2 separate regions of the Homo sapiens genome follow, and region 1 is linked to region 2. Evidence: promoter capture Hi-C in 16 types of primary human blood cells and fetal thymus (Javierre and others, 2016). All regions are on one chromosome and are shown on one strand. Each heading gives the region's core, a stretch centred on a gene start or on the middle of the fragment in contact. The rest is flanking DNA. Distances are from core to core; before and after follow the strand shown.

Region 1 (3,203 bases), core at 620-3,119, 630 kb before region 2:
GTAGAGGTTTACTCTTTTGGATGGAGAATATAATTCACTCCTCTAACACCTGAATGAGGGAAGATTAGCTCATCTCCTTAGCTGCAATTTGATTTAATGCTCAACAGGCAAATTTCTTTTCTTTTTTTTCTTTTTCTTTTTCTTTTTTTTTTTTTTTTTTTGAGACAGAGTCCTGTGCTGTTGCCCAGGCTGGAGTGTAGTGGCGCAGTCTTGGCTCACTGCAACTTCTGCCTCCTGGGTTCAAGCGATTCTCCTCCCTCAGCCTCCCAAGTAGCTGGGATTACAGGTGCCCGCCACCATGACTCGCTAATTTTTGTATTTTTAGTAGATATGGGGTTTTACTATGTTGGCCAGGCTGGTCTCGAACTCCTGACCTCGTGATCTGCCCACCTTGGCCTCCCAGAGTGTTGGGATTACAGGTTGAGCCACCGCACCCAGCCAGCAAATTTATTTTCTTTGATTTAATGCTCAACAGGCAAACTTCTTTCCTCCTCCTCCTCCTCTTCCTCCTCTCCTTCTTTTTTTTTTTTTTTTTTTTTTTTGAGACAGAGTCTCACTCTGTCACCCAGGCTGGAGGGCAGGGCAGTGGCGCCACACTGCAAGCTCCGCCTCCCAGGTTCACGCCAGTCTCCTGCCTCAGCCTCCTGAGTAGCTGGGACTACAGGCGCCCGCCACCACGCCCGGCTAATTTTTTGTATTTTCAGTAGAGACGGGGTTTCACTGTGTCAGCCAGGATGGTCTGGATCTCCTGGCCTCGTGATCGACCCACCTTGTCCTCCCAAAGTGCTGGGATTACAGGCGTGAGCCACCACACCTGGCCCTGCTCTCCTTCTTCTTCTTCTTCGTTCTCCTCCTCCTCCTCTTTTTTTTTTTCTTTTTGAGACAAAAGTCTCACTCTATCACCCAGGCTGGAGTGCAATGGCATAGTCTCAGCTCACTGCAACCTTTGCCTCCCAGGTTCAAGCGATTCTCCTGCCTCAGCCTCCTGAGTAGCTGGGACTACAGGTGTGTGCCACCACACCCTGCTAACTTTTTTGTAATTTTAGTAGAGACAGGGTTGCACTAATTTGGCCAGGCTGGTCTTGAACTCCTGACCTCGTGATCCGCCTGCCTTGGCCTCCCAAAATGCTGGGATTACAGGCGTGAGCCACTGTGCCTGGCTCCTCCTCTTTCTTTTCTTTCTTCTTCTTCTTCTTCTTCTTTTTTTTTTTTTTTTTTTTTTGAGACAGGGCCTCTCTCTGTCACCCAGGCTGGAGTGCAGTGGCACAATCTCGGCTCACTGCAACCTCCACCTCCTAGGCTCAAGTGATCCTCCCACCTCAGCCTCCCAAGTGGCTGGGACCACAGATGCGAGCCACCATGCCTGGCTAATTTTTGTATTTTTTGTAGAGACAGGTTCTCTCCATGTTGCTCAGGCTGGTCTTGAACTCCTGAGCTCAAGAGATCCTCCTGTCTCGGGCTCCCAAAGTACTGGGATTACAGGCATGAACCACCCTGCCTGGCCTCAACAGGCAACATTCTGATTAATAATTAGACCTCTGGGCCCGGCGTGGTGGCTCATGCTGTAATCCCAGCACTTTGGGAGGCCAAGGTGGGTGGATCACTTGAGGTCAGGAGTTTGAGACCAGCCTGGCCAACACGGTGAAATCCCGTCTCTGCTAAAAATACAAAAATTAGCCTCGCATGGTGGCATATGCCTGTAATCCCAGCTACTTGAGAGGCTGAGGCACGAGAATCGCTTTAGTCCGGGAGGCAGAGGTTACAATGAGCTGTGATATATAATGAAACAGTTTTACTAAGGAAGCAGTGACTTGGTTTCTCTAGAAATTGCCTAACACACACATTCCAGGATACATTCTCTGTCATCTGGAATCTCCCTTCCACAAACCCACGCTGTCTTAAGCACTATTTTCCTATTTGTTGTTGACCTAATCTAGAAAAAAGCTCCCGTCACTCGTTCTCCCCCACCCAGTCCCTCAGTCCCGAAACACGCTTATTCTCTGCACTTGTCACCCCACCCTTTGCTGCCCCCACCCCAGCGCGCAAACGCACACAGGTTTAAAGTTTAGGCTGTGATGCTCTCCTCGCCCGCAGATCACAGGACAGACATTCCCGGGGACAACTTTGCAAGGCCATGTGCTCGTCCTCCTTAGGAAGGAAGAGGGAGAAATCCCTGCGGCTCGGTTTTGTTCCAATGGTCTGCTCAGCGAGTGATTCCCGTTTCCCCAAAGGCTGCCCCTCATTAGCATGAACGGGGGTGGGGGTGTGGAGAAGGGGTTGGGGGAGAGAAAGCAAGCAAAAGACCAGGCTCACTTTTAGAGCCTGGGAACCCTGTCTGCAAAAATGACAGCTAGAGCTTTCTGGCTCCTCTGTTTGATCGTCGGATCATCCCCCGAAGCACCGGTGGCGGAGAGAAAAAGTAAGATTGGTGTAGTGCGGGGCCCTGGGAGCGGAGCGGGGATCTGTGGGGGGGAGCTGGGAAGGAGGCTCAGTGAAACGTGGGACGAGGAGGGGGGTCAGAGCTCGCAAGAGAGGACACCCCGGGTCTGCGTTCGTCTTATAAAGGAGCAAAGTGTGTCCCCAAGGTTTCGTGTCTCTTGGCAGCCTTTTCGGAAAGAAGCCAATTTAGCTACTGAAATGATCCCGAGCAAGCCGGGCAGGCTGGGGAAAACTTTGCATGTTAAGTAGTTGCTCCATCACGGAGGAGGGAAAGTGTCAAAAGGGGTCGTGGCGCGCCTTTCGGGAGCCGTGCCCGGGCCGGGCTCGCAGGACGCCGCGGGGTCCGCCCCCCTCGACTGGGTGAGCAGGGGCTGCGGGGGGCGCTGTGGAGGGCTGGGGGGAAGCGGGGCCGAAATCCGGCAGCCCCGGGCACTTTGCTCTCCCCGCAGCCCCAGCGCACAACCTTGGGACACCTGAGCCGGGGTTTAACTAACACGCACACACTCTTATACTTCATGCACGAAATGAAATTAAGTTACTCAGCCCGTGAAGAAATGAGGGGTTCTCTGGGGGATCGTGTTTTTGTTTTGCTTTTATTTGGATGTTCTGTCGGCTTCGCTATCTCTGGGAAAAACAGTTTCCGTACCTCACAGGGCAATTTACTCTGGGTTATTTTTCCACATGGAAATTGAATGACTTCAGTGGCATTTAACCCAAATATCAGACAATCTTTCCCATGACAACAGATGGTTATATCAATGGGG
Region 2 (2,911 bases), core at 351-2,850:
CATGCTTCAGGAACCAAGAGAACACACCTGTTGCAGTTGCAGCTTTTACATTTATAGTTATTGTGTATGGGTGTAAATAACTACTTCCTTGTATTTTCCACTGTAGACATGTTTTAGCCCTTATCTCTTGAAATATATATTATTTTGCTATTTTAAAATTTGTTTCTTGGTTGGGCACAGTGGCTCACACCTGTAATCTCAGCACTTTAGGAGGCCAAGGTGAGAGGACTGCTTGAGGCCAGGTGTTTGAGACCAGCCTGGGCTACGTAGTATAGCTGCTATCTCTACAAAAATAAAAAAAAGGTAAAATTTGTTTCTCCTCTACATTACAGATTATAGCTGAGATATTGTCTTATTTTGCTTGTAGATGGTTTATATTTTCCCTGATTTTCATTGCAGTTAAAACAAACAAAGAGATCTATTCAGCATCTATAAAGCGATGTCGGCACTAATTAAATTGAGAACCACTAACATAATAGATAAACCACTCCAAGATTTCCCGTTTTCCTGTTTGCTTTCCAGGCTGCTGTTGACCATATGCCCACACCAAACACAACCTCATTCCCATTTTCTTTACTTTTCTTTTTCTTTTTTTTTTTTTTTTTTGAGACGGAGTCTTGCTCTGTCGCCCAGGCTGGAGTGCAGTGGCGCAATCTCGCCGGCTCACTGCAAGCTTCGCCTCCTGGGTTCACGCCATTCTCCTGCCTCAGCCTCCCGAGTAGTTGGGACTACAGGTGCCCGCCACCACGCCCGGCTAATTTTTTGTATTTTTAGTAGAGACGGGGTTTCACCGTGTTAGCCACGATGGTCTCGATCTCCTGACCTCATGATCCGCCCGCCTCAGCCTCCCAAAGGGCTGGGATTACAGGCGTGAGCCACCGCGCCCGGCCTCATTCCCATTTTCAAGGATCCTAAGCTTTTTTAAGATCTCAAGCTATTTTCTAGGGACCAGCATGGTATGAATGATAACACATAAAACGTGTAAGGCCCTTAAGAATTGAAATTGTCTCACATGTCATCTAGTTTGATGCTCACGAAAATCCTATAGGGATAACAAATATGTCTTTTTAACTTTTCTTTTTACCAACTTAGTGGATTACAGTGAAAATGAAAACAAAGAGAAAAACCACTTTGCTTATTAAATGACTGAGCTGCTGCCATATCTTCTCTTAGGAGCTTTCAGAGATCCCACAGAGTAAGCCACCAAGATTCTCAAGTAGATAAAACCTTAGAATTTTCTATTTTAAGGTTTATTTTAGCCTCCTGATGTAGAGATGAGAAAACCGAGATCCAAGAAAAGCGACTGGCCACGGTCCTGAGAAATCATATTTCGAAGCAGGGGTGTAGGGATATATGAGATGGTCTGTTCTATTACACTCGCTTTTCTCATCGCAAATTTTAGGTAAAAAGTCTGATGTTCCCAGAGACAAAACCTGACGCTGCAGGCTGGAGTGGCGAGTCCCGCCCCGCGCGCCTCAAGCCCCACCCCCAGGCTGTCCGCGGCAGTGCCTGAGTGGCAACCAGCGCCGGGGACCTCGAGGGGTCCTTTGCGTGGGCTCCCGATGGGCTGCCTGAGCGGGTGCGCGGGCAACTTCCGGTGTGGGTGACGAGTGGTGGCCGAAGCAGGGGGACAGCAAGGGACGCTCAGGCGGGGACCATGGCGGACGGCGGCTCGGAGCGGGCTGACGGGCGCATCGTCAAGATGGAGGTGGACTACAGCGCCACGGTGGATCAGCGCCTACCCGAGTGTGCGAAGCTAGCCAAGGTGAGGAGAGGCCGGCTGGCTGTTGGCGGGCGCCAGGGGCTGAGTCACGGCGCGGAGCCTGCTTAGGCCTCAGGGGGCCTGCGGGCTGGAGCGTGCACCCCCCAATGCCTGTCCAGCCCTAGTTGGGCCTGCACGAGTGGGAGACCCCAGGTCGGCCCGGCCAGGGCTGCGGAGTACGCCAGCGCCTATAGCTTCCCAGACCCTCCCCAAAACAGATGGTCACTTCCCTCCGTGGGACTTAGGGCTCCGTTTAACTTTTTGCCGTTTCTTGGATGCTGTTTAAGTGATATTTACCTTAGTAGTTTCCCAGGGGTTAAGGCCGCTTCAGTATTAAGGCTAGATCAGAGAGTTTCGTTCTGTTGCTGTTGCTCAATCAATTTATGTCGTTACATCGTTTGTGGATCATGGCTATGTGCCTGGTCTTTGGCCAGGAGAAGGGGCAGGAAAGTGATAGTACGAAGATGACTAACACAGGACCCTGTCCTTTAGGAGTTGATGTACGTGATGAATTAGTCAAGTCATGCATGGTGGTGAGGGCCATACAAGGGGAAAGTGTTACTGGAACACCGAGAAGGAAGCTATGCATTCTTAATGGTGCCATAAGGGAAGGTTTTACAGGAAGGCTGACGTTTGTATTGGGTCTTGAGGAATTAGTAAGATTGAGGTGGGGTGGAGTCATTACTGAAGACGGAACTACAGAAGTAAAGACAAGTAGGCACTATAAGAGTTTAACGGGCTTTCCAAGAAACAAGGATGGAGAAAGGTGATAAAGTTGGTACGTATGTATATCTTAGGTTCAGTATGCTTGCTGAGGGGGAGCCACAAATTCATTAAGAGCTTTCTAGCAGCTAGCATCAACAAACATCAGTTACATAAGGGTGGGAAAACTCAGCCGCCTCCAATGCCAGACAGATAACAATAACTGATATTTGTTGAGTAGTTTCTGCAGTGTCAGGCACCGTGCTTACATGCACTAAGCCATTTGATCCTCACCTCAGCCCTATGCGATGGCTATTACTATTATCCTTATTTTACAGGTAAGAAAACTTGGGCTAGAAAAAGTTGAATCACATGCCCCAAGATCATACAGCTAGTAAAGTGGTGAAGCCAAGAAGCAAACCCAGGCAGACCGATTCTAGATTCTGG

What was found. Contacts are between HindIII fragments. The CHiCAGO score rates a contact against its expected background, and 5 or more counts as called.
Region 1: a fragment that was not itself captured here is called in contact with the fragment with the promoter of PSMD12 in region 2 in 1 of 17 cell types (erythroblasts); the score reaches 5.2 in erythroblasts.

What each region holds. Positions count from the first base shown.
Region 1 is chr17:67,995,339-67,998,541 of GRCh38, reverse strand. It overlaps C17orf58 (chromosome 17 open reading frame 58), which reads left to right and starts at 2,073. Exons shown (of 4, transcript NM_001382359.1): 1 at 2,073-2,419. The coding sequence starts at 2,344. RefSeq lists a silencer at 2,754-2,843. The HindIII fragment of the contact is 3,759 bases long and covers 1-3,203 here.
Region 2 is chr17:67,365,266-67,368,176 of GRCh38, reverse strand. PSMD12 (proteasome 26S subunit, non-ATPase 12) reads left to right here and starts at 1,600. Exons shown (of 11, transcript NM_002816.5): 1 at 1,600-1,765. The coding sequence starts at 1,658. RefSeq lists enhancers at 1,395-1,704, 1,725-1,784. The HindIII fragment of the contact is 3,672 bases long and covers 919-2,911 here.